Linked DNA regions of Homo sapiens: regions 2, 3, 4, 5, 6 and 7 are each linked to region 1. The links are contacts of gene promoters, found by promoter capture Hi-C in blood cells and fetal thymus (Javierre and others, 2016). All regions are on one chromosome and are shown on one strand. The core of a region is centred on a gene start or on the middle of the fragment in contact, and the rest is flanking DNA. Distances in the headings are between cores, read along the strand shown. Region 1 holds the start of DEFB136 (defensin beta 136). Region 2 holds the start of SLC35G5 (solute carrier family 35 member G5). Region 3 has its middle 8.5 kb from the start of FAM167A-AS1. Region 4 overlaps FAM167A-AS1 (FAM167A antisense RNA 1). Region 5 overlaps FAM167A-AS1 (FAM167A antisense RNA 1). Region 6 overlaps FAM167A (family with sequence similarity 167 member A). Region 7 overlaps FAM167A (family with sequence similarity 167 member A).

The links. The method cuts DNA at HindIII sites, captures the fragments that hold promoters and counts their contacts. A CHiCAGO score of 5 or more calls a contact.
Region 2: a contact is called between the fragment with the promoter of SLC35G5 here and the fragment with the promoter of DEFB136 in region 1, in 2 of 17 cell types (naive B cells and total B cells). The highest score is 7.4, in naive B cells.
Region 3: a contact is called between a fragment that was not itself captured here and the fragment with the promoter of DEFB136 in region 1, in 1 of 17 cell types (total B cells). The highest score is 9.4, in total B cells.
Region 4: a contact is called between a fragment that was not itself captured here and the fragment with the promoter of DEFB136 in region 1, in 2 of 17 cell types (total B cells and naive B cells). The highest score is 6.3, in total B cells.
Region 5: a contact is called between a fragment that was not itself captured here and the fragment with the promoter of DEFB136 in region 1, in 12 of 17 cell types (non-activated CD4 T cells, total B cells, naive B cells and 9 more). The highest score is 12.7, in non-activated CD4 T cells.
Region 6: a contact is called between a fragment that was not itself captured here and the fragment with the promoter of DEFB136 in region 1, in 1 of 17 cell types (naive CD4 T cells). The highest score is 5.2, in naive CD4 T cells.
Region 7: a fragment that was not itself captured here is called in contact with the fragment with the promoter of DEFB136 in region 1 in 1 of 17 cell types (naive B cells); the score reaches 5.7 in naive B cells.

What each region holds. Positions count from the first base shown.
Region 1 is chr8:11,972,321-11,976,377 of GRCh38, reverse strand. It overlaps DEFB136 (defensin beta 136), which reads left to right and starts at 1,779. Exons shown (of 2, transcript NM_001033018.2): 1 at 1,779-1,833; 2 at 2,260-2,441. The coding sequence starts at 1,779. The coding sequence ends at 2,441. The HindIII fragment of the contact is 18,049 bases long and covers 1-4,057 here.
Region 2 is chr8:11,329,195-11,333,251 of GRCh38, reverse strand. SLC35G5 (solute carrier family 35 member G5) reads right to left here and starts at 2,240. Exons shown (of 1, transcript NM_054028.2): 1 at 892-2,240. The coding sequence starts at 2,145. The coding sequence ends at 1,129. It also overlaps a transcript of MTMR9 not described here. The HindIII fragment of the contact is 5,485 bases long and covers 1-4,057 here.
Region 3 is chr8:11,357,844-11,361,900 of GRCh38, reverse strand. It overlaps the pseudogene TDH. Among named protein-coding and RNA genes, the nearest start is that of FAM167A-AS1, 8.5 kb to the left of the region's middle. The HindIII fragment of the contact is 4,642 bases long and covers 1-4,057 here.
Region 4 is chr8:11,391,734-11,395,790 of GRCh38, reverse strand. All of the region lies in intron 2 of FAM167A-AS1 (FAM167A antisense RNA 1), which reads right to left. It also overlaps the pseudogene RNU6-1084P. Among named protein-coding and RNA genes, the nearest start is that of FAM167A-AS1, 25 kb to the right of the region's middle. The HindIII fragment of the contact is 1,960 bases long and covers 683-2,642 here.
Region 5 is chr8:11,411,175-11,415,231 of GRCh38, reverse strand. The region is part of intron 3 of FAM167A-AS1 (FAM167A antisense RNA 1); the gene reads right to left. Among named protein-coding and RNA genes, the nearest start is that of FAM167A-AS1, 45 kb to the right of the region's middle. RefSeq lists an enhancer at 3,438-3,732. The HindIII fragment of the contact is 4,489 bases long and covers 33-4,057 here.
Region 6 is chr8:11,428,095-11,432,151 of GRCh38, reverse strand. The region is part of intron 2 of FAM167A (family with sequence similarity 167 member A); the gene reads left to right. The region is part of intron 3 of FAM167A-AS1 (FAM167A antisense RNA 1); the gene reads right to left. Among named protein-coding and RNA genes, the nearest start is that of FAM167A, 37 kb to the left of the region's middle. The HindIII fragment of the contact is 1,455 bases long and covers 1,422-2,876 here.
Region 7 is chr8:11,447,876-11,451,932 of GRCh38, reverse strand. All of the region lies in intron 1 of FAM167A (family with sequence similarity 167 member A), which reads left to right. Among named protein-coding and RNA genes, the nearest start is that of FAM167A, 17 kb to the left of the region's middle. RefSeq lists an enhancer at 1-225. The HindIII fragment of the contact is 204 bases long and covers 1,585-1,788 here.

The DNA of each region.
Region 1 (4,057 bases), core at 530-3,029:
CAGCATCAGACTCACGCATATGTGGAGCCTGATTTAAAACAAAGGTGGCACAGCTAGACAGTAGAGAAACAACAATCTTTTCAATAATTTTTGGTCTTGAAACAATTGGTTTTCCATAGGGGAAAAGAAAACTAAATAGGACCCCTAATTTATACCATACACAGAAATCATCACAGGTGGTTATAGAGCTAAATGAGAAAGAAAAATAATAAAGAAAAAAGAAAGATAATATAGGAAATAGTTTTATGACCTGGGAGTAGGGAAAGATTAGTAAGCAAGAACCAGAAAATTAAGAATATGTGTGCTTACTGTATTGGCTGGGTGGGGTGGCTCATGCCTGTAATCCCAGCACTTTGGAAGGCTGAGGCAAGTGGATCCCCTGAGGTCAGGAGTTCCAGACCAGCCTGGCCAACGTGGCAAAACCCCATCTCTACTAAAAATACAAAAATTAGCCAGGTGTGGTGGTGGGCACCTGTAGTCCCAGCTACTTCGGAGGCTGAGGCAGGAGAATCGTTCGAACCCAGGAGATGGAGGTTGCAGTAAGCCGAGTTTGGGCCATTGCACTCCAGCCTGGGTGATGAGCAAGACTGTCTCAAAAAACAATAATAATAATAATATTGAGTACCTACTGTATGGCAGTGTGCGTGCAAAGCATTTTATAAGCTGTATCTCATTTCATCCTGAAAAAAAACCACGCATAACCTTCCAATGCACTTTTTGAGGAGTTCTTGAGGCTGAGATGCTAAATAATGCATCTGAGGGTCTAGGCCTGCAAAGCAGAGTGTACCCAGGAATACCATGCTCCACTGACACACCACACACAGCCCTGTGGTTGTTGGCTGCCTGCGTAAAAGCCTGCCTTAAGGGTCAGAACAAAATCAAAGTTAGTGTCATCTTCACCCTCAGACATCCCTCATCACCCCAAGAGAGACAGGCCTAAGGGCCCTTCTCCAGGGCTGAGTCTCTGTCACTCCAGAGAAGCCCTGTCTGGCTCCACTCTGGACACTGTGCATCCAACCTTGAACACAGCACTGAACCGACTCTTCTAAGGGAGAGTTTCAACTCCTCAACTCCAAAAAAGAAATCTCTCCTAGAACCTTCAGAGTCCCCTCATCCTAGCCAACGTTTCATACCAGCCATTTGGAGAACAAAGTCCATCAGTGAACTTTTCCAGGACTTTTTTTTTTTTTTTTTTTTGCAGTATCTGCCTTCAGCCAGGTAAATAAGTCAGCTGCTAGACAAGGAAGCTGTCCCTTCTCCACTAGTTCTGAGCCCCTACCTTCTCTTGGTCAGGCCACTGGTTGACAATTTGAGAGACTCCGTGTGTCGGAACTGTCTTTCCAGGCTTAAATTCAGCCTGTGTTTCATAACACCCTTTCTCTGCGCTCCTGAGCTTTCAGTGGTGCTCCAGAGGAAAGGAGAGACAGAGCAGACATTTTCACTGCCATGTTTATATCAAAGTACATTTGAAGGCAGAGGGAAAGCGCTCAGGCCTAGGCATGGGGATCCTGGTCTTTTCTCCTATTCTGCTATCAGGAAACGTGACAGCCTTAGCTGAGTCTCTGGTTTTCCCGCGGTTTGTAGAAAAGGAGGTAGCACTGAAAGGCCAGGGCCTTTTCTTCCTCGAATTCTGCAGAACCCTGTGATCTCCTCAGTCTGCCCCTCCAGGAAGAGTGAGGCCAGGGTCCAGCCCCACCCATCGCAGCCCAGCCCAGCTCTATAAAGGAGCCTCCCAGGCAGACACCACTGGGAGTTCCAACTCTGTGCCCTCTTCGGCCATGAACCTCTGTCTTTCTGCATTACTCTTTTTCCTGGTGATCTTACTGCCTTCAGGTAAGACAGTGGGCGTGAGTCTGAACATAAAAGTGGGTGTTCCCAAAGATTGAGATGCTTAAAAAACCCTCTAACTATAAGCCCAGCAACAGGACACCAATATCAAATGGGCCACCATGTTAGGGGCATGGTGAGCGGACCCCAGCTCCTGCCCTGCTCTGCTGTTGCTGCAGCTGGAAGATCTGCCAGTGCACCGGGGACGGGGGTGGATGTCATTGTGCACACAGATCGTGCAGCCACCCAGATTCCTATCTCCCCTCCAATGCCTCTGGCTACCCTGAGCTTTATCTGCCTTGCTGAGTTGTGATAAGAGGTGAGGTAAATCACAACTAACAAGCCATCAACCAGGAGGTGATGGCAAGCCTAGGATTTCTCCCAGCCTCATTAAGATTGATTTTTCTTTTCTGTGGTCTCTCCCCGCTTCAGGAAAAGGTATGTTTGGGAATGATGGAGTCAAAGTTCGCACCTGCACTAGCCAGAAAGCCGTATGTTTCTTCGGGTGTCCGCCAGGATACAGGTGGATTGCGTTCTGCCACAATATTCTGTCTTGCTGTAAAAATATGACACGTTTTCAACCCCCGCAAGCCAAAGATCCATGGGTTCATTAAAAGGATATGTGAATGGCTCAAAGTACTACACTCCTAATCTGTGTGTCAGGATCTTAGAGCTCGTAAGTGAGCCATGGGCAGAAATGAGGACCACATTCTGACAATTTACTGGCAAAATTCCAGAAACATTTTGTAAAGGCAGCACTGCCATGAAATGCATCCCCTGTTATTTTTCCTACCCTCCCATCTCCAATCACTCATTCCTCTTTCAAATTCAAATTCAGGCCAGGCGCAGTGGCTCACGCCTGCCCGCCTGTAATCCCAACACTTTGGGAGGCTAAGGTGAGCAGATCACTTGAGGTCAGGAGTTTGTGACCAGCCTGGCCAACATGGTGAAACCTCATCTCTACTAAAAATACAAAAATCTTCCGGGTGTGGTGGGTGCATGTAATCCTAGCTACTCAGGAGGCTGAGGCAGGAGAATTGCTTGAACCCGGGAGACGGAGGTTGCATTGAAAAGAGATCACGACACTGCACTCCAGCCTGGACAACAGAGTGAGATTCCGTCTCAAAAAATAATAATAAAAATTCAAATTCTATTGATTAATACAAGTTCACAGGCCCAAGCAATGATATATTCTGGCCATAGAAACAAAAGCTAACCACACACCAGTCACACACTTGAGTGGTTTACATCTATTAGGGAAATTACTCCACACAATAAAATCTACAATTTCTCCCATTTGGCAGATGAAGAATATTTTCCAAGGTCACACGACAAGAGTTAGTCCCAGGTTTAAATCCACAGAGTCTGCACGCAGTGTCTTGAGTGTAAAGTTGCACCACCTCTCCATTAGTAAGCATGGGAATCAAGCTAGATTGTGGTTCCAGTGAGGAGGCAAGAATCCAACTAGACCCCCCGAATGGCAAGACCCTCAATGCTCATCCTGTGGTTTAAAGCCATCATGCTTCTGGTTGCCAAGTTGCTTTCATGGCTCTGTACTCAGTGGCTTTCACGAGTCCCGATCGGTTTCACCCTAAAATCCCACACACCGAACATGCTACTTTCACCAGTGCGGTGACACACTGGACCCTACACCCATTCCAAACCTGCAGCTGTCTGAAGGCAGCACTGTCCAAGAGCACGTCCTCACCATCCACTCCAGGGTTCCCACCTGGAGGCAGAGGCCTCGGGTCTGCATTGAGACCCTCCTCATTCTCTACTAAGAAAACAGAAGGGCAGCTGAGTTTTGGATCTCCCTTCTCCACAAACATGCCTAGCAGGCACACTCTGAACCTCTGCACCAAACGCTAAGCAGGGGTGAGCCGACTGCTCAGAGCCCAGCCTCAACATCGATCACCCAAATTCCAGCAAAGAAGAAAAATCAGAGATCATCATGGTCCATGAGGCGAGCCTCCGAGGGTATCATGCTTCAGCTGATCCCTTCGGGTCTGTGAGTGTGTCTACAGTGGTCCTGTGGCATCAGACCACCTGCACGTGCTCATTTCAAACCACCCCCTTATCAAAAAAAAAAAAAAAAACAGGGAAGGACATTGCAAAAGTTCACAAAAGAATATCAATGCAATGAAATTAACATAAAAATAGAAAATAAAAGAGAAAACTGGGCGAAGGGAAAAAGCAGATATTCTTTCACCAGATGTCAAAAGGATCTAAT
Region 2 (4,057 bases), core at 991-3,490, 640 kb after region 1:
GCTACTTTCAAGATTCTTTGTGATTTTTGATAGTTTTCATATACTGTGTCTTGGTATGAATCTCTTTGAGTTTATGGTATTAGAGGTTGTTGTAGAGGCTTCTTGGATTTGTACACTTATGTCTTTCATCAAATCTGGGATGTTTTCAGCCCTCATTTTTAAAACACTTTTTTGCTTTTTTCTAGGACTCTCATAAACCATATGTTGGTCCACTTGATGGTATCCTACAAGTCTTGAAGTCTATTCACTATTTTTATTCTTTTTCTTTATGCTCCTCAGAGTGGATAATTTCAATAATCCTATCTTCAAATTTGCTGATCCTTTCTTCTGCCTGATCAAAAACTCTACGGAAGGCTGGGCGTGGTGGCTAATGCCTGCAATCCCAGCATTTTGGGAGGCCAAGGCGGGTGGATCACAAGGTCAGGAGTTTGAGACCAGCCTGGCCAACATAGTGAAACCTCATCTCTACTAAAAATACAAAAATTAGCTGCGTGTGGTGGCATGCACCTGTAATCTCAGCTACTTGGGAGGCTGATGTAGGAGAATTGCTTGAACCCAGAAGGCGGATGTTACAGTGAGCTGAGATCATGCCACTGCACTCCAGCCTGTGTGACAGAGCAAGATTCTGTCTCAGAAAAAAAAAAGCAAAAAACAAAAAACAAACAAACTCTATCGAACCCTTCTAGTGAATTTCTCATCTCAGTTGTCGCACGTTTCAGCTACAAAATTTCTACCTGGTTCCTTTCTATAATTTTTATATTTTTATTGATATTCTCATTTTGTTCAAACATCATTTCTCTGATTTCATTTAGTTGTCTTTTAACTCTTGTGCATATTTAAGACAATTGTTTAGTCTTTGTCTAGTAAGTCCAAAGTCTGGGATTCCTTAAGGATAGTTCAATTAATTTTATTCCTGTAAATAAGCCAGATTTCTCATTTGTTTGCATGCTTTGTGATATTTTTATTATAACTGAACATCTCAATATTATAATGTGCTATGGAAGTTAGACTTTCACTCTTTCCTAGGATTTATTATAATTATTTTTTTTCTTTTATTTTTTTTTTGTCTTCAGTCTTTGTCTTTATTTATCCCTGTCCCTCCCAACCCCCGGGCTCCCAAGTTCTATCTCACTCCTCCACCTTCCCTGTCCTCTCACAGCTGAGGTTCCGGGCTGTAATGATGGCAATGCTGCCCAGCACAACCCCTGCCCCCATGATGTCAGAAAGTGCCACAGTCTCATGGAGCATATAATACTGCAGTATAAGGGCCACAACCACCTCGGAATGCAGGACAGCGCACACCAGGGCAGGGTGGGCCTTGGTGACCGCATAGCCCACACATGTGAAGGAGACCAAGGCGAGGATCCCCTCTGCCCCCACACAACTCCAACTCAGGAGGTCACTGGGCAACACGGGGGTCTGCAGCACAAAGAGGCCTGGCACACAGCCCAGCAGCCCCACCAAGCCAGATAGGAAGGCCACTGTTGGGAGGCAGGAGGGAAAGTGCAGAGAACGATAGACCAGAAGCCCCAGGGACAGCGCCAGGCCTCCCAGGAAAGCCTGCACATAGCCCAGGGTGGTGTAGACACCTGTGGTCCCCTCCTGTAGTGTCCAGAGTCCAGGTCCCAGAATGATGATTAGTCCTAGGATGCTGCCCAACAGTCCACACCACTCGTAGCCACCGAGACCCTGGCTCTCAAGGCAGAGGGTGAGGACAGCGGAGCATACGGTGGAAGAACCTTTGCGAACAGTGGCAGCGTTGCCAGCGGGCACCACCTGAACTGCACTGTAGGCACATCCAATGCTGAGGACGTTGAGCAGGGCACAGAAGCAGGCCCAGCCTCGGATGTCAGGAGGTCCCAGAAGGGGGTCGCCACGCAGTTTAAGTAGCAGGGCAATAGGGAGGTGGAAGAGGCATCGACAGATGAGCAGCTCCAGCGAGGGCAGGTTGGAACCCTGGTAAGCCATACGAGAAAGGGGGCCCACGAAGCCAGCAGGCAGGCCCCCACCCAGCAGGGCCACCAGCAGGCCATTGGTGGCACCAGAGGGCTGGCAGCGCTGGTGCCAGCGGAGGCTGGGTGGAGCGGAGGGCGGCGATGGGTGTGTGGAGTCAGGCAGGTTGAAGTAGGGGTGACTGCCAGCCATCTTTCCTTGGACTTTCTCCTCTCCTCCTGGCTCAGGGAGCCTGGGCCCCTCAGAGCTCCAGCCATTGTGACCTCATTGGAGTGCGGGTGGGGTTCTTCCCTGGAACTCTCCTGAGGTGGTAGCACGCCTATTTTCCCGCTGAGTCCAACTCTGCTTCTTTTCTTTCTTTCTTTCTTTCTTTTTTTTTTTTTTAATTGATCATTCTTGGGTGTTTCTCGCAGAGGGGGATTTGGCAGGGTCATAGGACAATAGTGGAGGGAAGGTCAGCAGATAAACAAGTGAACAAAGGTCTCTGGTTTTCCTAGGCAGAGGACCCTGCGGCCTTCCGCAGTGTTTGTGTCCCTGGGTACTTGAGATTAGGGAGTGGTGATGACTCTTAACGAGCATGCTGTCTTCAAGTATCTGTTTAACAAAGCACATCTTGCACCGCCCTTAATCCATTTAACCCTGAGTGGACACAGCACATGCCCCAGAGAGCACAGGGCTGGGGTCAAGGTCACAGATCAACAGTATCCCAAGGCAGAAGAACCCCTCCCAGTACAGAACAAAATGAAGTCTCCCATGTCTACTTCTTTCTACACAGACACAGCAACAATCTGATTTCTCTATCTTTTCCCCACCTTTCCCCCTTTTCTATTCCACAAAACCGCCATCGTCATCATGGCCCGTTCTCAATGAGCTGTTGGGTACACCTCCCAGACGGGGTGGTGGCCGGGCAGAGGGGCTCCTCACTTCCCAGAAGGGGCAGCCGGGCAGAGGCGCCCCCCACCTCCCTCCCAGACGGGGCAGCTGGCCGGGTGGGGGCTGACCCCCCACCTCCCTCCCGGACAGGGCGGCTGGCCGGTGGGGGGCTGACCCTCCACCTCCCTCCCGGACGGGGCGGCTGGCCAGGCCGCGGCTGACCCCCCACCTCCCTCCCGGACGGGGCGGCTGGCCGGGCGGGGGCTGATCCCCGACCTCCCTCCCGGACGGGGCTGCTGGCCGGGCGGGGGCTGACCTCCCACCTCCCTCCCGGATGGGGCGGCTGCCAGGCGGAGACGCTCCTCACTTCCCAGACGGGGCGGCTGCCGGGCGGGGTGCTCCTCACTTCCCAGACGGGGCAGCTGCCAGGCGGAGGGGCTCCTCACTTCTCAGACAGGGCGGCCGGGCAGAGACGCTTCTCACCTCCCAGACGGGGTCGCAGCCGGGCAGAGGCGCTCCCCACATCTCAGATGATGGGCAGCTGGGCAGAGACGCTCCTCACTTCCTAGACGGGATGGCGGCCAGGAAGAGGCGCTCCTCACTTCCCAGACTGGGCAGCCGGGCAGAGGGGCTCCTCACATCCCAGACGATGGGTGGCCAGGCGGAGACGCTCCTCCCTTCCCAGACGGGGTGGCGGCCGGGCAGAGGCTGCAATCTCAGCACTTTGGGAGGCCAAGGCAGGCGGCTGGGAGGTGGAGGTTGTAGCGAGCCGAGATCACGCCACTGCACTCCAGCCTGGGCAACATTGAGCACTGAGTGAACCAGACTCCGTCTACAATCCCGGCACCTCAGGAGGCCGAGGCTGGCGGATCACTCGCGGTTAGGAGCTGGATACCAGCCCGGCCAACACAGCGAAACCCTGTCTCCACCAAAAAAATACGAAAACCAGTCAGGCGTGGCGGCGCGAGCCTGCAATGGCAGGCACTCGGCAGGCTGAGGCAGGAGAATCAGGCAGGGAGGTTGCAGTGAGCCGAGATGGCAGCAGTACAGTCCAGCTTTGGCTCGGCATCAGAGGGAGACCATGGAAAGAGAGGGAGAGGGAACTCCTGGGCTCAAGTGATCTTCCCACTCCAGCTTCTGAGTAGCAAGGACTGCAGATGAGCACCATCATGCCTGGCTAATTTTTTTATTTTTTGTAAAGACAGGATCTTGTTATGTTTCCCATGCTGGT
Region 3 (4,057 bases), core at 586-3,085, 610 kb after region 1:
ATCACCAGGCCTTGGAGGCAAAACGAATGAGAAAGCAAACAGCAAATCGTGACAGCCAGGGCACATTCAGCAATCCAGCTGAGTGATGCTTACTTCTCCCATGAGCTCCGCGTGGACCTTGGACACCCCATAGATGGTCCTGGGTCTCTGAATACAGAGATCGGGGGTTGGGTTCCGGGGAGAGGTGGGTCCAAAAGCCCCAATCGTGCTAGGCACAAACAATTGCAGATTGTGTTCCGCAGCGACATCCAGGATGTTATGCAGGCCTGAAATGAACAGACACTATCAGAATCTGAAAACATCTCTTCTTAAAGAACTAGAAAAACTGGCAAATAAATCACATCCAGCCAGAGCCAGATGCTTACCAGTTATATTCACTGCTCTCGCCAGGGAAACATTTGCTTCTCCAAAGGCGCTGAGCAAAGCGCTGTAATGAAACAGCCAGGTGATGCGGTTGTTTACCACGATCTCCCGAAGATTCTTGTAATCCAAGATATCAGAATAAATGAATGGACCTGCAAGGAACATAAATTGAAACCACGAACGTGAAAAGGGTTGTGAACTAAATGGACCTTTCCCCTTTCCCCCGTTGACTTGTGAATTTCACTGGTAGCCACGCAATAACTAAGACAGCTGGGCACTAGGCAGCATTTTTCTTACGGAAGAATCACAAGTCACAACCACCCCGCGCCAGGTAATGACAGCAAATGCTCCTATAGGACCTGCCTGGGCCAGACCCTGTCCTAAGGACATAAGTCCATTTCTTTCCCACACAGCCTTGGAGGTAAACACATTTTACTGATAAGGAAACAGGCACCGAGAGGTTAAGCAACTTGCCAGGATCAGAGAACAAGTGGAGGAAATGGGGCTGCAGCTAGGCATCGGGCTCCAGAGTGGGTGCTGTTCCTCCCAGCCCTGTATACACAGAGTGGCTTCACTCTGCTTCCAAGGTGCACATTTGAAAAGGAATAGAGAAACGGACTTATTCACCACCACCACCACCTTGGTATAGAAAACCCACAAACCATGAGTTTATCATACTTAATTACACAGAGGTAAAGTTGATCTTGCTCTGTGCCAATTTTCCCCACTTACAGCAAACTGTCACTCTTCCCCATGGTGAGCAGCAAAAGGCTGATGCTGAACCAGGAAGGACTGGGGGCATTACAAAACCTTATTTTTGGGGCAGCGGGGACAGAGTCTTGCTCTGTCGCTCAGGCTGGAGTGCAGTGATGCAATCATGGCTCACTGCAGCCTCCATCTAGTGGGCTCAAGTGGTCCTCCCAAGTAGCTAGGACTACAGGCACGTGCCACCATGCCCAGCTCATTTTTAATTTCTTGTGGAGACAGGGTCTCACTATATTGCCCAGGCTAGTCTTGAACTCCCAGACTCAAGTGATCCTCCCACCTCAGCCTCCCAAATTGCTGGGATTACAGGTGTGAGCCACCATGCCTAGACATAAAAACATTTTTGAAGCAGTAAAATCCTGATTAGAAGAGCTTGAGAGGTGTGTGTGTGTGTCTGTGTGGATGTGTGTGTATGTGTATGTGCGTGTGTGTGCGTGTATGTGTATGTGTGTGTGCGTGTATGTGTGTGCATGTGTGTATGTGTGTGTATGTGTGTCTGTGTGTGTGCGTGTGTGGGTATGTGTGTGCGTGTGTCTGTGTATGTGTGTATGTGCATGTGTGTATGTGTGTATGTGCGTGTATGTGTGTATGTGCGTGTATGTGTGTGTGAGTGTCTATGTGTGTGTGTGTGTATGTGTCTTTTCGTTTCTATTCTTGATTTTTGTTTGTATTCTCTCCAAGTCAATAAGTTAACTTAAAACACAAAAAGACAGGAAACAAAGTTTTCATTTCCAATAACATCAAAATATATTATTCCAAAAACTTCAAGGTCAAAAGAATTCTTCTGTTCTTTTATCACTTGAACAAGCAGCAGCATTAAAAATATATATTTTTTTATTATACTTTAAGTTTTAGGGTACATGTGTAAAATGTGCAGGTTTGTTACATATGTATACATGTGCCATGCTGGTGTGCTGCACCCATTAACTAGTCATTTAACATTAGGTGTGTCTCCTAATGCTATCCCTCCCCCCTCCCCCACCCCACAACAGGCCCCAGTGTGTGATGTTCCCCTTCCTGTGTCCATGTGTTCTCAATGTTCAATTCCCACCTATGAGTGAGAACATGCGGTGTTTGGTTTTTCGTCCTTGCGATACTTTGCTCAGAATGATGGTTTCCAGCTTCATCCATGTCCCTACAAAGGACATGAACTCACCATTTTTTATGGCTGCATAGTATTTCATGGTGTATATGTGCCAAATTTTCTTAATCCAGTCTATCATTGTTGGACATTTGGGTTGGTTCCAAGTCTTTGCTATTGTGAATAGTGCCGCAATAAACATACGTGTGCATGTGTCTTTATAGCAGCATGATTTATAATCCTTTGGGTAAAATACGTATTTTTAAGTGAAATACCAGTGCCTCAATAACTTCTCTTTGAGTCATAAATTCAGCTATGAGCTGCTGCACGCACCAATTTCACGAGCCACCTCTTTGTGCCTTGAAAATTAGAGATAAAAATAAAAGCAAGACCTATTGATCTCTTACCACTGTGAAAGACATGATCGGGGGGTTTCCTTATGTCAGACAAAATCACACTGTCCTTTCCAAATCGTTTCCTAAAGGGAAAATTAACCCACACAAGTTGGCAACATCTAGAATGCAATGAGTCCTGTGAGAAGTCTTTTAAAATAAGAACTGTAATTTTCTGCCAGCCTCCAAATCTCTACTTCCTCTTCATCCTCAATTCCCACACCTTCAATTCTTATCTCTCTCACACTCAGGCCTCTATTTCCCTGCCCACGACTCTCTCTTCTGTTTCTCCTCTCACCTGACTGTTAACCCTATGCTTGTCACCGGTTTCTTCCCATTACCCCCCAGAGTTTTTACCTCTTCCTCATCATTCTTCTTATCTTCTCTCCCCTCTTCTTATTCTCTTACCCCATTCTCTCCAAATCCCACACTCTTCCCTTCCAGTTTGCACCTGTACTTCCCTTGGTTCTCAAACAACTAAAAGTCAAAGTGATTCACTGGGAGATGTGTGTCTCACTTTGCCTAAGTTAGGAAACAGAAAGAGAGCAAAGGACCAGTCTGGAGATGTTAAGTCAAGGGCCTACGACAAGTCTGGGATATTCAGAGGCAAAATAAAATGTATTTTAGGCTGGGCACAGTAGCTCACATCTGTAATCCCAGCACTTTGGAAAGGTGAGGTGGGCAGATCACTTGAGGCGGGCAGATCACTTGAGGCCAGGAGTTAGAAGACCAGCCTGGGCAACATAGCGAGAGCCCATCTCTACCAAAAATAAAAAAAATTAGCCAGGCGTGGTGGTATGTGCCTGTAGTCCCAGCTACTCGGGAGGCTGAGGCAGGAGAATCACTTGAACCCAGGAGGTGGAGGTTATAGTGAGCCGGGATTGCACCACTGCACTACAGCCTGGGTGACAGACTGAGGCTCCAACTCAAAAAAAAAAAATCTGTATCTATATCTATATCTCTATATATCTATATCTATAGCTATATATAGCAGTTATTTAGATATATCTTAACAATGGTAAGGAGCAAGAGGAGAGAGAAAAGAAGTTTAAAAGGCATCCCAATGAGCTCCATATACTTAACAACTCAGATTTTAAATTTCAAGTTTTTAGGGCTCTTACCTCAAAAGATTAGCAAGCCCCACTCCCAGCTGGCCAAGAGCCCCTAGATGAAGAAGAAAAAAAAGTGAAGGTTTAATGCAAATCTAAACAGTTCAATTATTCCCAGAATGTAATAACTGAGTGAGACTAGTTTTCAGTCTTAGCTAACTACGTAAGTCCTAGGTTGCACTGATATAACTGCTGCTTACTTCCAATCTTCCCAGGAACGTGGTGCAGCGCTTAGAAATGCAATGATCTCCCCCATGCTAGGACAGAGACCAATACAGGTAACATTCGTTTCAGAGACAACACTTACCAGCATGGAGTGGTTCCGAGAAAGAGGAGAAGCAAGGGCA
Region 4 (4,057 bases), core at 413-2,912, 580 kb after region 1:
ATTTCAGAAGGCCTCTGGAAAGTTCCATAGGATTTGTCTCTCACCTTGTAAAAAAGAGCGATTAAACTAATTAGGCTTACAGGATATGTTAAATTATATGAGAAACATCATCAAATAATAGGTGATGCTAAACCTTTATGTTATGTTTGTGGATATGATATTGATACAAGTGTTCCAGAAATTATACATAATTCCTAGAAATCTGATATGTCCTAGTATAATGCTATCAGTCATAATTTTAGTTATTGTATTAAAATGCAATATGCCACAGAAATAACCACATTTCTTTGACAATTTCATCATTATGATGGTGAACTCTCATCAAATCTTTAACCATGGCCATTGAATGTCTTTTTTCATCCACAGGCAGTTATTGTTTTACTTTGATTCTTCTCTGAAAGCATTTGTAATCAGCTACAGCCCAAAATTGCTTCTTCAAGGAGATTCATAAAAAAGGCTCTACTCTGCAATAAAGGTTTCTGATAACTTTAAGATCACACCATTGGATGGGGTACAAATTTCTAGAACTCTTATGAAGAAACTGGTGGTTTCATGAAACTGCTAACCAAGATCAAGAATATCAACTACATGAGACTACATGAAATGAAGGGGATAATTTTTATGACTTTTATTTGAAACGTTTCTTCTTTAAATATTTTGTTTTCCAGATTTAAGGAAAGCTTTTTTTCTTTTAAGCTACCTATAACTTACAGCAATTTAGTATATCGTTAACAAAATTAGAACATTTCGTTTTTTTTCTTCCTCCCTGATCCCTCCAGAATTTAGAAACTATTTATGAGTACTCTTATTTTTATGACAATTGTAGTTACTTGCACAAGTTTAGTAAGTATATTCTCCTTGAAACAGGACAAAAGTGGAAACACTGATTATATGACCAAGGCTTTGACTGGAATATTATATTTTCAGACATGACCAGACAGTTTTAAGGAACTAAAACCAGTAAAGTTTATTTACTTTACTGGAACCAGTAAAGCCCCCATTGGAAAAACTGGCCTGGCTTAAAAGAGTTTCTAACCTTACAAGTGAGTAAGTAATGTCACTTTCTGACAGGCCCAGGAACTGTAGAATATTTGGGGGATCCTGAGAAGAAAGGAATTCACCCAGATCTGTAGGTATTGCAGGCAAAGTCTGATGGCAAGTTAGTGGCCTGGCTTCTGGCCTCAAGAGGCTATTAAAAGTCTAACTTGAGGTTCCTTATCAAAAGTTCCAGTAAAGCAAATTTTGAAAAAGCCTATATAGTCAATCACTATTGTTGCGGCACTTGCACAAATAATCATTACTTTTGCAAACATTACTTTGCGAACAAATTAGTCTTACTTTGATAATCTTTGGTAGAAATGGAAATGACTATAGAAAGAAAAATATTTCAGAAGAAAACTATATGCACTCGTTATTAGATTCCAGCTCATTGTTTTTGAGGTTTTTGTTACTCACCTACAATCTGGACTGGATCCTGAATTCTTCTCGTTTCCAGAAATGTCTGGCTACAGGTCTCCAAACTAATATTTTTCTCCCACCCTTCTGGTTTGGAATCACTGAAATGAGAACTGCTCTATTCCTGAAGCCCTGCGAACGAAAACTGGATGACTTGACACAAGCCGTAGAGAAAGCACAGCAACTTATGTATGCGTGGTCCTCACGCCTGCTGCTATATGGACTACTCAGAAACGCCCCTGGAACACCTGATGCAAACTGTAAAGTGGGGAAACCTGTCAAACTGCCACGGCCTGCTCCCACCCCAGCTGAAGATGCTTTCAGCCAAAACCCAGAAATCTTCTCACCTGGCTGCTTTCTGAGCTTAAAAACCGAGTTTCTAGTTTATTCTAATTACTAACATTGGTTTTTCTTTTGTTCTCATAGAAATGCCTCTCGTGAAATACTCGCGCCATATGGATGTCTAACTTTGGTGGCAGCCCACCTGTAACACTGCTGCCCGAAATAAGATGCAACTGTTGACAGTTTAGCTAGACTGACTGATGCTTGGGACTCAGAGACAGGTTCGGTGGTGTAGGAGACAATCCACCGACCCAACTTCTAGATTGTTAAACTTGTCATGGAGCGGAAATACAAATCTAGTGTTTGATTTGCTCAGATATGCACTTTTAAAGCTCTGAAAAGATGCATGAGAAACTAGAATAAAGTTTACCTAGGGAGGTGTGGGAACAGGGCAGATGGAGGCCAAGGGTGAAAGTGATATTGGTCACATATCCTTTATTAGAAGTTCTAATTCTCTGTAAACAGGTCTCAGAAATTCCCAGCTGCTTATGGAAAAGCAGAAATGTCTCGTTCCAAAGGCTGTATAATGGCCTTGTGAACTTCTTGGAATGATAACTCTTCTGGCTGGCTTTACCTTGACCTGTCCTTGACCAGTGACTTGTTTTCTGTCTTATCTCACTTGGAACTTGGCACAAGTCCTCAGGCCACCCAGTATAGCAGTGGACTTGAGGGCTGTGAGCTAGCGTAGCTGGGAGCCTTCTCTCTGGGAGTAATTCCGTCTTCCCCTCGGCTCCCATCGCCTTAAAGGACACTCCTCAGTGACCCAGCACTAGCAAGTCCCCAGACCTGCCTGCCAAGGTCCTCTTTGTCTAATCGGAGGAATCAAGGGCGCCCTCTCCCAAGCTTTAGCTGAACGACGGACTCTCCTGACACTGTCAGGGAGAAGTGAGGGGAAGGCATGGTGAGGAGGGACTCTTGGGGAGCAGAGCAGGCTTCCTCTTCACCTCAGAGTACCTGCTCTGTGTCTCTCCTCCCACGTTCCCTGCCCAGCAGGGTGACCTCAATCCCCGAGTCCATTCTCTCCCTGTCCACCGTCCAGGCTGGCCCTCCAGCCCTGCCGCCCACCCCTGTGGCCAAGCCTCCCCCTTAGCACCTGCAGAAACAGCGCTAGTGCTGTCAGGCTCCAACACGCCTGGGTTTCATTCTCGCTCTACTGCCCACTAGCTGTGTGGCCCTGGGGGAGCCATGTGGCCCACCTGCATCCTGGTGTCCTCATATATAAAATAGGAAAAAGCATGCCCACCTCACAGGACAGGTGCAAAGCTTAAAGTCAATGGTGCGCCTGTGCTGCCTCCTGCAAGATTTGTAGATGCTTCTGCGTGCTGGCAAGGTTCTGCTTCTTAAGCTAGTTAGGGGCTACACAGGACTTTGCCTTACAACTATTTGTGAAACTGTCCATTTTTGTTTTATGCACTTTCTATATGTATGTTTCATTATACCATTTCTTTAAAAAACACTTATAAAAAAGCAAATCTGGTGCTCGCTTTGGCAGCACATATACTAAAATTGGCACGATACAGAGAAGATTAGCATGGCACCTGCACAAGGATGACATGTAAATTCATGAAGTGTTTCTTTCTTTCTTATTTTTTTTTTAAAGCAAACCTGTAGAAGAAAATGTTAGATGCTGAAAAACATTTAGTTATTCAGGCTGGGGACGGTGGCTCATGCCTGTAATCCCAGTACTCTAAGAGGCCAATGCAGGTGGATCACCTGAGGTCAGGAGTTCGAGACCAGCCTGGCCAACATGGTGAAACCGCCTCTCTACTAAAAATACAAAAATTAGCCAGGTGCGGTGGCACATGCCTATAATCCCAGCTACTTGGGAGGCTGAGGTAGGAGAATCGCTTGAATCCGGGAGGTGGAGGTTGCAGTGAGACAAGATTGCACCACTGCACTCCAGCCTGGGCAACAGATTGAAACTCCATCTCAAACAAACAAACAACAACAACAAAAACCCACATTTAGTTATTCAGGGGAAATTATTCTTCCCCTGATAAGGATAGCGTTCCCTACTTTAACACCATCTCAGTTCTCTCCTTTCTGAAGAATCTCCCTGATTCTCTGTTATTTCAAATAACTGTCCTTTCCCAGCCAAGCTCCTAAGATGGCTATTCTAAAACCGCCACCTCCCCTTTCACTCCCCTTTCCCTTCTGTGAGCTGTGGCTGTCAGGCTGTGCCGCAGCTGAGAATGCACCAATGGCTTCCAGCAGCAAACCCATCTCCCTTACGCTTCTGAGACCCGGACCATTGCTCCCT
Region 5 (4,057 bases), core at 1,028-3,527, 560 kb after region 1:
CTCTGCCTGCTGCCACCACCGGGAATAAAGCTTCACTTGCTATTGTGCACTGAATTATGACCCCCAAAAATTCACATGTTGAAATCCTGATCTCCAGCATCTAAGAATGGGACTATGTAAGAGGTAACTAGAGTAAAATGAGGTCATATGGGTGGGTCATAATCCAATCTGACTGACGTCTGCATAAGAAGAGGAGATTAAGACACAGACACTCACAGAGGGACGGCCACATGGAGACACAGGGAGAAGACACCACCTACAAGCTGAGGAGAGAGGCCTGAGAAGGAACCAACCCTGCCAGTACTTTGATCTTGGACCTCCAGCCTCTAGGACTGTGAGAAAACAAATGTCTGTTATTTAAGCCACGCAGTCTATGGTATCTTGTTATGGCAGTCACACCCAACGGGGATATTTGTTTTTCCTCTTTGACCCCTCTTCCTCTCCTCTCTACCCCACCCCCAGCTTTTAAAGCCCCCACCTGGAAGTGACTCATATCATTTCTGCTCACATTTCCTTGGTCTAAACAAGTCAGATGGCCAAACCTGACATCCAAAGTGTGGAGAAGTACCAGCTTAGCCTGGGCCCCCAAGTAGAGGAGAACTGCACTATTTGCAGATGGGATCTTAGTGATTACCTCTCATTCTTCCTCACCCCATCCAGAGTGGACCTGCAAAACCCCATCAGCCTGCAGCCCTAAGGACACCCTGACCAGCAGACTCTGACTTGCAGTGTAGACACGGGGCAGTACCAAGATGATGCAGCATGGAGTGAAAGGAAGAGAAGAGGCCAGGTGCAGTGGCTCCCGCCTGTAATCCCAGCAATTTGGGAGGCCGAGGTGGGAGGATCACTTGAGCCCAGGAGTTCTAGACCAGCCTGGGCAACATGGTGAGACCCTATCTCTACAAAAAGTAGAAAAAATAGCTACCCACATGCCCAGCTACTCAGGAGGCTGAGATGAGAGGATCACCTGAACCTGGGGAGGTCGAGGCTGCAGTGAGCCACGATCACGCCACTGCACTTCAGCCTGGGCCACAGAATGAAACCTTGTCACATGCACGCAAAAAGACGAGAACTTCTATTAATGTTTTAAACCTCTTCTTTTCTGCTTTCAATGTGCTCTAAATATGTATAATATATGGGTACAGACATGTATATTATATAAATCTGTTGGGGAATGCACAAACATTTTCACAGATGGAGGGCAAGTCAGACAAGAGTGAGGCCCGGCCTTTGCCTGCGCCACATTGGATTCACCCCATATCCAAGCCTCAGGCTGTGCCAAACTGGATGAGGGACGATGCTTCCTCATGCGAGGTGGCACGGGCACAGCCTCTGCCCAGTGTCCTACTGCCCCTGTGTGGCCACATATGGCGTCTGCACACACCTGAGTCGCTGGGTAAAAGGCACCATATTTCTGCCAATCTGCTCTGGGCTCTGTTCCCCTTGACAGACCTGTCACAGGACAAACCCCTAAACCGGGTTCAGCCTGGGAGGCCACATGGGTTCTTGGCTTTGCACAGGAAGAAATTCAAGAGTGAGCCGACAGAGTCAAGTGAAAGCAAATGTATTAGGAAAGGAAAGGAATAAAAGAGTGGCTACTCCATAGGCAGAGCAGCCCGGGACTGCTGGTTGGCTATTTCTTTATTGATCATATGCTGAAGAAGGAGTGGATCATTCATGAGTTTTCGAGGAGAGGGGCAGGGAATTCTCGTAACTGAGGGTTCCTCCCCCTTTCAGGCCATATAGGGTAGCTTCCAGGCATTGCCACAGCACTTGTGAACTGTCATGGCGCTGGTGGGAGTGTCCTTTTAGCAGCTAATGCATTATAATTAGCGTATAATGAGCAGTGAGGACGACCAGAGGTTGCCTTTGTTCCCATCTTGGTTTTGCTAGATTTTGATCGGCTTCTTGACCACATCTCATTTTATCAGCAGGGTCTTTGTGATCTGTACCCTGCAAAACAAGCCCTCCCCAACTCCTATCTCAAACCCACAATGAAGCCCATGTCAGAAGCACCAGGGGTAGAAAACAGAAGGTGGGGAGAGAGAGGGGGAGGAAGAGAGGAAGCAAGAGAGAGAGGAAGGGAGAGAGAGAAATGGGGAGAAGGCCAAGAAAGAGAGAAGGTGCAAGAAACAGTGAAACGCAGGAGGTTATTTTTAAGATGGGATATGGTCACCAAATGCAAGCACATGAACCAGCCTTCCTTTCCTGCACTGCCCCCATCTCCCCTTTTCAGAATGTTCTGGTCAAGTCTAAGAACAGGGCCTAGAAATCACAGCTTCTGAGTTTGAGGCTCAGGGGCAGGAGCAGATGCAAGACCCAGCAGCCCTGCAGAAGGCCCCAGTCCCTGACGCCCCATTCCACCACCCAGAGTGGCCTGCCATCACCCATTGTCCATGTGAGCCCAGAGCTAGCTCCAGCCAGGCGGGCGACTGCAGTCCCCTCTCATCTCTGGGCGGGCCCCTGGCAGGTCACCTCCACACAGCACAGCCCTTCAGGGGGCCCAAAGCAGGAAGGCAGGAGGCCCTACTGCCCACTTTCTGCAGGGGACAGAAGGACAGCGGGGTCACCTCCTGGATCCTGGCTCCCATCCAGCCACCTTGCTCTGCAAAGCTGCCTACGTGCTCTCTCTCTCTTTCTGTCTCAGAAAAGACACAGCTGATGGAACCATCATGAAAATGTTGCAGGGCACCCTGAGATGCAGAACTTGATTTCTTTTAAGCAAGAGAATTTGTGTTTAAAAGACTCCAGCCCCTTCTATTTCTAGCAGACGAGACAGTGAGTCTTCCTGAGACAGACGCCAGCATGGCCCCTTTCAGTGAGTGAGAGGAAAGGCAAGTCAGGACTCCTCTTCTTCTGCCGGAGCCAGACCCTCCACTCCCCACTGAGATTGCTAGGGAGGGATGGACAAGTGATTGTATTGGGGCCAAGAAGCCTTCCAGAAGAAAGGGCTCCTGGCTCCTTCCCAGATGAACGCTACTGAAGCATCTCTAACTGCCGGAACGCTGTGATCCCAGACAGGCCAGACTGTGGGACGTGGGTGAGCCCCATCACAGGGGCCATGACACTGGGAACCCAGGCCATGGAGGGGTGACATCCTCCACTTCAAGGGGCAGAGCAGACCTGTGAGGGGCAGCCCCAGGGACAAGCGAGTCTTGGTGAAAAAGGGAGAGGAGAAAGGTTTGTCGTGATGAAATGCGGCTCAGAATTATATCGCATAAAGTATTAGGAGAGGCATGACCTTATGTCGCCCCCGAGCTGCTGGGACACATGACTTAGAGCACGTGTCTCTTAGAGCATCTGGCTCTGCTGTCAGAGCCAGAGGGCTTCAGCAATCAGGGGGGTCTCCTCCTATGACAAGAAGCAGGTCCAGGCGCTGGAGTGGTCGGAACTGTTCATTCGCTCTGCCCTGCAGTGCCTCCTCCACCTACTCCCTGTCAGAGCCACAGTAGAGGAGGTCTGAGAACACATATCTGTCCTGGTCTTGCCCTTCTGCCTCTTAAACAAACGGTTTTTTCACTTTTATCCTGCGGACCCATGGTGTTAAGGAAATCCTAACGCGCCCCCTGCCGGAGACACGGAGATCTCTTTAGAGGTGCATTCTGAGAAACAGTTTGAAAAACGCCCGTGATAGTTGCTTGTGTTCTTGGCATTTGCAATTGCTGTCACTTGCCATGTTTGCTGGAAAATTAAAAGTTCAGATGCTGTTTTCTGCTCAAACCCAAAACCTATGGTTGGAGTGCTCTGTCACAATTCGATTAAATTCTACAAGTACTTTTTAGCATCTAGTACGTGCCAAGCCCGGTATCTGCTCTGGGAAACACAATGACTAGATGCTGAAAATGCATAGAGCGCTTTGGTTTTGCTCATGACATTTAAGCTGAAGTTCATGTTTTATCTTCCTCTGCAACCCAATTCTCTCTCTTTTTTTTTTTTTTTTTTTTTTTTTTTTTTTTTTTTTGACAGAGTCTCACTCTGCTGCCCAGGCTGGAGTGCAGTGGTGCGATCTCAACTCACTGCAACCTCCGCCTCCCGGGTTCAAGCCATTCTCCTGCCT
Region 6 (4,057 bases), core at 900-3,399, 540 kb after region 1:
AGAGTATTTGCTTCCCTTGAATGTGAAGAAATCACTCAGTGTTTTAGACCAAGCAAGTGAACACAGATCAGCCAGGGGATGTTGAGTAAGGATGCAAATTCCACAAAAATGCTGCCTTTCCCAAATGCACATCCTATGTTAGACTAGCCTTTGCCAGGGACAGCATGAAACCCACACTGAGAGTTGAGTCACCCCGGCCAGCCTCTCGGGCCTTTGGCAAAGAACAAAATCCTTTTTTTTTTTTTTTTTTTTTTTTTTGCCAATTGGTCCAGTACCCTCCTTCTGTGGCCCCCATCTCCAGTAACCCCCCAGAGAGGCCCTTCTACCTCCCAGACTACTCTTCAGGGTCTCATCAGCTTCCAGTGTCACTCAGGCTAGAGACAACATCACTGAGACCACCCTCCAACTGTCCAGGCTGGGCCCCCATTCCCCAGCACCTGCGGCCACGCTTGCTGCAGGCAGGCTGACCGGCCATCTCTATTTGCCCAGGACTAAGGAGGTCCCCTGGATGCAGTATTCTCAGTGCTAGAACCAGGTAGGTCCTGGGCAAACTGGATTGAACTGATTGCTCTAAATTTGCAGACTCTGCTGTTGTTGTTTAAATGTCAGTAAAATATGTATAATATAAAATGTACCATTTTATATGTACAGTTCACTAAATATATTCACATTGCTGTGCAGCCGTCACCACCATCCATCTCGAGAACTTCATCCTCCCAAATGGAAACTCTGTGCTCACTAAACGCTAACTCCCCATCCCCTCTCCCCAGCCCTTGGCACCACTGTCCTGCTTTCCATCACTATGAATTGGACTACGCTAGGAACCTCTTCTAAGTGGAATCCTACGGTATTTGGCCTTTAGTGTCTGGCTAATTCACTTAGCATAATGTCCTCAAGATTCATCCATGTTATGGCATGTGCCAGGATTGTCTTCCTTTTCAAGGCTGAATAATATTCCACTTTATGGATAGGCCACATTGTGTGGATCCATTCATCTGTGGAGGGCACTGGGTTGGTTCCGCCTATTGGTGATTGTGAACGTGGATGTACAAATCCAGGTTCTAGCTTTTGCCTTCATTTGTTTGGGGTGTGTACCTGGAGTGGCATTGCCATGTCATATGGTAATTCTGTTTAACTTTCCGGGACCCGCCATGCTGTTTCCCACACCTTTCTTAAGGCTTTTGTTTTATTCCACCCAGCTCCGAGGGTAGGAGTCAGCTCTTCTGACTCCCCAGGAAAATCCCCAGGTCCAGAGAGACCCCCCAGCAAACCACTGGCTTGATGCATTAGACTTTTCTATGATCTGAATGTCCTCGGCTGACCTTCCCCTTGCGTTTTTCCTCTCTGGGTCCTTCTTCCAGGGCCGCCTTGGCCGTCTCCTCCAGCCCCCTTGCCACACCCTCCCCTCACCACGTAAAGCTTGGAAGTAAGGAAATCTCTGTCCTCTTCCAGACCCATTTAATTACCATCTTTAGTGACTTAATCCTGCTCTTGGGGGTTTGCCTTCTACCTTGAGAAACAACCTGGCTCTCTCTCTTGCTCTCTTTCTTTAATTGGTGTTTAAAATTTTTCAAAATGACTTCATTGAGATAAACTTTACATACCATACAGTTCACCTATTTGAAATAGCAATTCAGTGGTTTTTAGTGTTTTCAGAGTTGTGCAACCATCATCACGTATAATTTTAGAACATTTCAACACTTCACCCAGGTGCAGTGGCTCACATCTTAACGAGCATTCTTGTCTGCCCCCAAAAAAACAAACATCTGTAGTACAGATCACAAGCACAGCTGTTTCAAAGGGGCCACGTGTGGCTGCCGCCCTTCCCTTCTTCCAAGCCTGGTGGGGACACCCTGTCACCACAGTGCTTGGACAGCCCCCGACCAATGACATCTCTTCCCTTTCAACAAGTTCTGTGCCCTAATTATGGGGTTGCTGGGATTACAGGCTGCACCTCTGAGAATTCAGCAAGTGCTTTTGTTCTCAGAGAGACACCAGGCCACGCTGGGAGCGGGGACTGGAAATTGGCACATCCTATGGTAGAGCCTTTGCCAGAGACAGCATGAAACCCACACTGAGAGTTGAGTCACCCTGGCCAGCTTTTCAGGCTTTTAATGAGGGCTTAAAACTGGGAGGTCCTTGCTGGGTTCCATGTTCTGTGCCTTGGCCTGGAGAGAAAGGACTTAAGTGATGGTGCACCTCTTACTTTGATTTGGCCAGCGTAGTTCATATTTTCTGCCATGCTATTTGTTGTCGAATTTCATTCTCACTGTCCTTAGAAGAGATGAGAAGAGGCCTTATCTCTTTTCTGTAGATGAGGACACAGAAGTTCCAGGTGGCAGTGACTTGCCACCCAACGAGTGAGGAGTGGAGCTCAGCTTGAACCTGGGTTCTAACCCAGGGCTGTGGATTTTCCCTTTCTGCCACCCCTGGGCCCAGCTCGCCTCTGAGCAGACAGGAGCCTGGGAGAGTCTTCCAGCTCTGGGTGCTGACAGGCCCGAGTGTGGTCCAGATGCCATAGGCTGGCTGGCCATGAGCCGTTCCTTTACTTCTCTGAGACAGTTTCCTTGTAAGACAGACTAAAATCACACCTGCCATCTAGAGTTGTGGGAAAACATGATGAAACAATCTATGTCAAACGTGTGCGGCTGCAGCCGGGGCTGTGTTGTCATCCCCGCCTCCAGGGGGCCCCTTGGCAGAGCTTGAAGGGAAAACAGGAGGAGGCACTCCAGTCCCAGCTCAGACCTGCTCTCCTGAACTGGCGCAGCCCTCTGTGCCTTCCCGGGCAACCGCCGTCCTCCCGACTAACTCCACACAGGACCAGCAAAGACATATCTTCATTGCAAATCTCTAAAAAGATTAATTTATAAAAAGCTTCTTAGCCATCAGAAACCAGAGGACATTATGCTAAGTGAAATTAGCCACTCACAAAGGACAAATACTGTGTGATTCTACTTCTGTGAGGTTCTTAGAGTAGTCATACAGACAGAAAGTAGAAGGGTGGGTGCCAGGGGCTGGAGGAGGGGGATGGGGAGTTAGTGTTTGATGGATGCAGTTTCTGTTTAGAACGATAAAAAGAGCTCTGGAGATGGATGGTGGTTGCGCGACAACGTGAATGTACTTAATTGCCACCGAGCTGTACACTTAAAAATGGTTAAGATGATAACTTCTATGTTGTATGGATTTTATCACAACTAGAAAAAAATTCTAGAAACAAATTAAGCCTCTTATTCTTGCACATTTTGCTCAGATTTCTTCAGAGTCTGTGGGAACTCGTGTGGATTTGGTTCAATTACAGCAGAGTGACCTCCTAATCGGGGCTCAAGTTAGTGTTTAAGGTGCAAAGTCACCTTTGCAAAATGTCTGTGTGGCCCAGGGAGCAGCCGAGCATGGGCCCAGCACAGCCAGGGCTCCCGCATCACGGGGACAAACCCTGTTCTTTGGGGCAGGAGATGAATTTGTTGATTTGTGTGCAGGGATCCCAACACACTATGTATTGTGAGCATCTAAATGTGAGAACCCATAGTGCATCCTAGCGAGATGCTCACGCTGTGAGATGCCCTCAGAACCAAAGCCCACTGAGGAAGTTGCAATTCCCAGCCCCCTCCTCATGTTCTCTCAGAGCGCAAGCAGGGAGACCGGCCGGAATCACCATCCCTGTTGAAGCTGCAGCTTTCTTTCTCTTTTCACCCTTACGCAGAATTGAATGCATGTGCACAGCATGGGCGTGCGAGGCAACGCCATCCAGGCGGCCTTTGTCCAGTCCATGGAAACTGACACAGGCCTTACTGTCAGCCCTCTTTCTAGCTGCCTCTGATGGGTCTTAAAGAGTAAATTGTTCTCTGACCTTTGACCAGATCTGTCAGCCACAGAAAAACAGCCCCTTCCTTCCTGCTACCCCACAGAGATGTGTCCGCCACAGCCTGCGTCTCACAGATAGTCTTAGACACCTGGCCACACCCCAAATTCCCCGACTTCAAAGGATCTTTTCACACCAAAGATGCAATTCCTGGGGCCAAAGCTCAAATCTTAAACCATAGGGTTCCTAGTTTTTCAA
Region 7 (4,057 bases), core at 437-2,936, 520 kb after region 1:
CATTATTGTAAGGCTGTCAGGTGCCCACAGAATTGGCAGGAGGTAAAGACCAGAAAACAGGCAGAACCAGGGCAGATCCAGAAGGCAGAGGCAGGAGATCCCGGGCCAGTCCTTCAGCAGAGACAATTTGGCTAAGAGGATGCCACCGCCCCTGCACTTCACATTTGCCTCCAGGGTTGGTTCACAGATGCGCCCTAACCATCCCTTCCTCTGAGACTCACACGCACCCAATTCAGAGTCGGGGCCTGAACAGCTGACTGGCCAAGCTCAGGTCACATGCTCACACCTGGTCACCAGGGCATGAGCTGGGAAGAGGAGCACGTGGTCCTCTGGTTGCAGAGAAGGCTGCACGGCCTGCCTGCTGTTCTGCACAAAATGGGGAGCTCCCTCCACACAGGAAAGGAGAGGGTGTTGGATATGGCAAACAGACACACAGTCCAACGAAAGACAAATAGCAGCAAGCATCCACTGTGCTCTTTAATATTCCTTCTCCAGTGCGTGCTGTGTCAGTCACTTACGAATGTCAGAAACCCCATCTCCAAGTAGCTGAAGCAAAAAAGGCGGAAGGTATACGCTGTGTAACCTGGGCAGGGCGGGTGGCTTCCCACGGGGCCCAGCTGCGGGCCCCCAGCTCCTTGCCACTGGGCTGTGATGGCCAAGCTGCCACACTGTCGGCTTGGCTTTGCTCTCCAGTTAGACCCTTTCCCCACATGTGCTGAGCATGGTGGCCCCAGCGGCCCCGGCCAGCTCAGAGCAAGGCTGGCCTCTGAGTGGTTCTGACACCAAAACTTCATCCTGTGTCTCCCCACGCCCCAGGAGAAAGGAAACCCCAGGGATGGGCTCCTGTGGGAAAGGGGGATGCACTTTCCAGAAGAGGGAGGAAGCTGCTGGATGGAAATGACCTCATCCTGCACTGGACTCCAAGGAGGCCCTCAAGCTAGGTCTGTCACATCAGACTGTCCCCTCCAACTCCAGCACATAGTCCTGGGATTTGGGATGAGCTGCAGCTGTTCCTGTCTTTGTCCCACTGCAGGCCCAGAGCCTGCACACCTATGTCTGGACACTTGTGGTCAGGGCAGGCAGGGTGGGTGGCATCCGTGGGGACAGGAGGGGAGGCACCATCCCAGGAAGCCTGGGTGTCTTTTTCTGCCTCTCTGAGCCCATCCAGGCTGGCTCAGATTTGAGCAAGGACAGGTCGCTGTGAGTGGGAGGAAATCTGTTTTATTGGCTCATTCATTCCACAGCATTTAAAGAGAGCAGCATTGTGCTAAGTACTGGAGGGTCCAGCATAAAAGGCTTGGTTCTCGTCCTGAAGTTGAGAGTCTGCTAGAGGCGACCATTGACAAAGGCCCTGGGTGTAAGTGCTGTGGCTTAAGAGGGGCAGTAAGCCCAGTGGTTAGGGGCCAGCTCAGAGCTAGACTGCAGAGGTTCAAATCCCAGCTTCACCACTTATAAGCTCTGTGGCTTCAGGCAAGGTCCCGAACCTGTCTATGCCTCAGTCTCTTCATCTGTAAAATGGGGATGATGATACCCCAGATTCATAGGGCTGTTGTGAGGATTAAATGTGTTAATACATGTAAAGCTTTTAGCACCACAGCTCGTGTGGTGTGCTGTAAGCATTAGCTAATGTTGCGATGACATAATTGTTTCTCTGATGTGCTCGGGTTGTCCTGGGTACACACAGCCCAGCCTGGGCAAATCAAGCAAAACTTCCCCCAGGAGAAAATCCCTGAGAACTGAACTAAGGCACAGAAGGGAGTGAAGGGCTTTCCAGGCTGGAGGAAAGCTTGTGCCGAGTCAGGGGTGTGAAAGAGCATGGTGTCCGGCGGGACAGGAGTGCTGGGTCGGGGTTGGAAAGATTGTGTCTTATGGAGAAGAAACGAAAGGGTTCTAGTGGAGAATGCGAGGCTGGAAGGAACAGCAGGAGCGCGTGGTGAGAGGAGGTGTGGAGGGGATGGGTCAGCAGTGCCTGCGTCTTCCCCTGCCCTTGGGAGCCCATCGAGGAAGTGGATGTGACCGTTTTCCAGGTGAACAGATTAGGTCATAATGAGACAAGGTGTTGGCTGAGCTGCCCCCACCTGGCTCCTCCAGCAGCCAGAGGAGTTAGCTCATGGTTGGCGAAGGCTCCTCCAAGGAGCCGCTGTGGGCCTGGGAGCCAGGGAGCTTGTTGGAACAGCAGTCTCTGTGTGTGGCATGGGTCCTCGGCACTGGCACACAGAGCTGCAGAAAGGCTGACGCGCCCCCCCAAGGGCTTGTCCCCACTGCTGCTGGGTGGCCTGCCTGGCGGGGCGTGCCTGGGCCTGGTGGGATTACAGGGTCTGATGTCGTTTTTCTAGACACCCTAGGTCCCAGGTCTGGCAGCGTCCTTTGGCTTCCTTCTCCGGCCCCTCCACCCCTAGGAACGACCCAGGTTACATGTAAAGAAAGCCCGTTTGTTTAGAGTGTTGGGGGGCTCTTCCTCCCGGGGCCTGGGCCCCAGGAGTCCCTGGTTTGTCAAGCGAGGGGAGGCCTCCACTGCTTTTCCAGCCCAGGAAGCTGCCCAGTGCTGGCATCTGTTCCCCGGCACCCGGCCAGCACCTCTCTGCCGGCTCAGGCCGGGTCCAGCTCAGTGCCCAGTGAGCAGTGACAAGCTTTTCTGCTGTCACGTCCCTGCGCCTGTGTGGGTGACATTCCAGCTGAGCTCCTGTGCCTAGTGGGAGGGAAGAAACCCCTTTGGGCTTGTTCAGGCACCAGGGCACCCAGGGGGACAGTGCTCCCCAAACACTGACGACCAGGAAAACACATGCTGCTTGAGCAACTCCTCGCGGTCTGACTGTGCTGGGGGCAATCCCATTCCTGCAGCAGCTCCTCACCATCTGGCTGTGCTGGGGGCAATCCCGTTCCTGCCAGCTACGGGTGACCACCTGCTCTAAAATAGTGACTCCCCAACTCAGGCCTCTCCACATTGCACACACGCCTATTCAGGTGGGTACAGCTCTTTACAGTTTAAAGAGAGCTCTCACATACCAGGTTCCATAGATCCTCAGCCATTGCACAGATTAGGGAACTGAGGCCACGAGGAAAGGACTGAGCCTGGGTGCTCGGCTTGTCAGCAGTGCTGGGACCAGAAACCAGGCTTCTGGGGCCTGGCCTTGGTCTGCCATGCAGAGAGCACAGGGTGGAGTCTCTCCAACACCCCGAGCCGTGGGCGGGGCATTCACAATGTGAGCAGAGAGGGAAGGGAGCAGGCATGGAATGGTTTTAGTAAGTGGAGCTGTTCTCTCCCTTCTATGGCAGAACAGACTCCACTAAGTTTTGAGACCTGAAAATCTGGGGGAGGTGGGATCAACTGACTTCGTGTCGTTTGGTGTCCAGGGAAGGATGTGAGGGGGCAGGGATTGTCTTGGGCCACCCAGCAGGTCAGAGACCAACAGAGTGTCTGCTCAGTGCAGTTGGAGGGTCATGATCTGTCATGTGACGGTGATATAACTCTGATAGGTTATGTCATCTTAATAATGACATTTTAAAAACCATGACTAAGGCTACATGACTATGTCTAGGGCTTCCTGTAGACCAGGCAGTGTGCTGAGAGCTCACATTTGTAACCTTATTGAATCCCTGATTAGGACTTACGAGGTAGATGTTATTATCCCCAGAACTAGCCTCATGGCTGTGGGCAGTGGCACAGGGCCCCTCGTGTGGGTTCATGCTCTGCTGTCCCTGTCTTGAAATTCTTAGAACTTTTTTTTTTTTTTTTTTTAAGACAGAGTCTCGCCCTGTCGCCCAGGCTGGAATGCAGTAGTGCGATCTTGGCTCACTGCAACCTCTGCCTCCTGGTTTCAAGCGATTCTCCTGCCCCAGTCTCCCAAGTAGCTGGGATTACAGGCGTGCGCCACTACGCCCAGCTAATTTTTGTATTTTTAGTAGAGACGGGGTTTCACTATGTTGGTCAGGCTGGTCTTGAACTCTTGACCTCGTGATCCACCCGCCTCGGCCTCCCAAAGTGCTGGGATTACAGATATGAGCCACGGCGCCCGGCCAATTCTTAGAACTTTTTAAACAAGGAGCCCCGCATCTT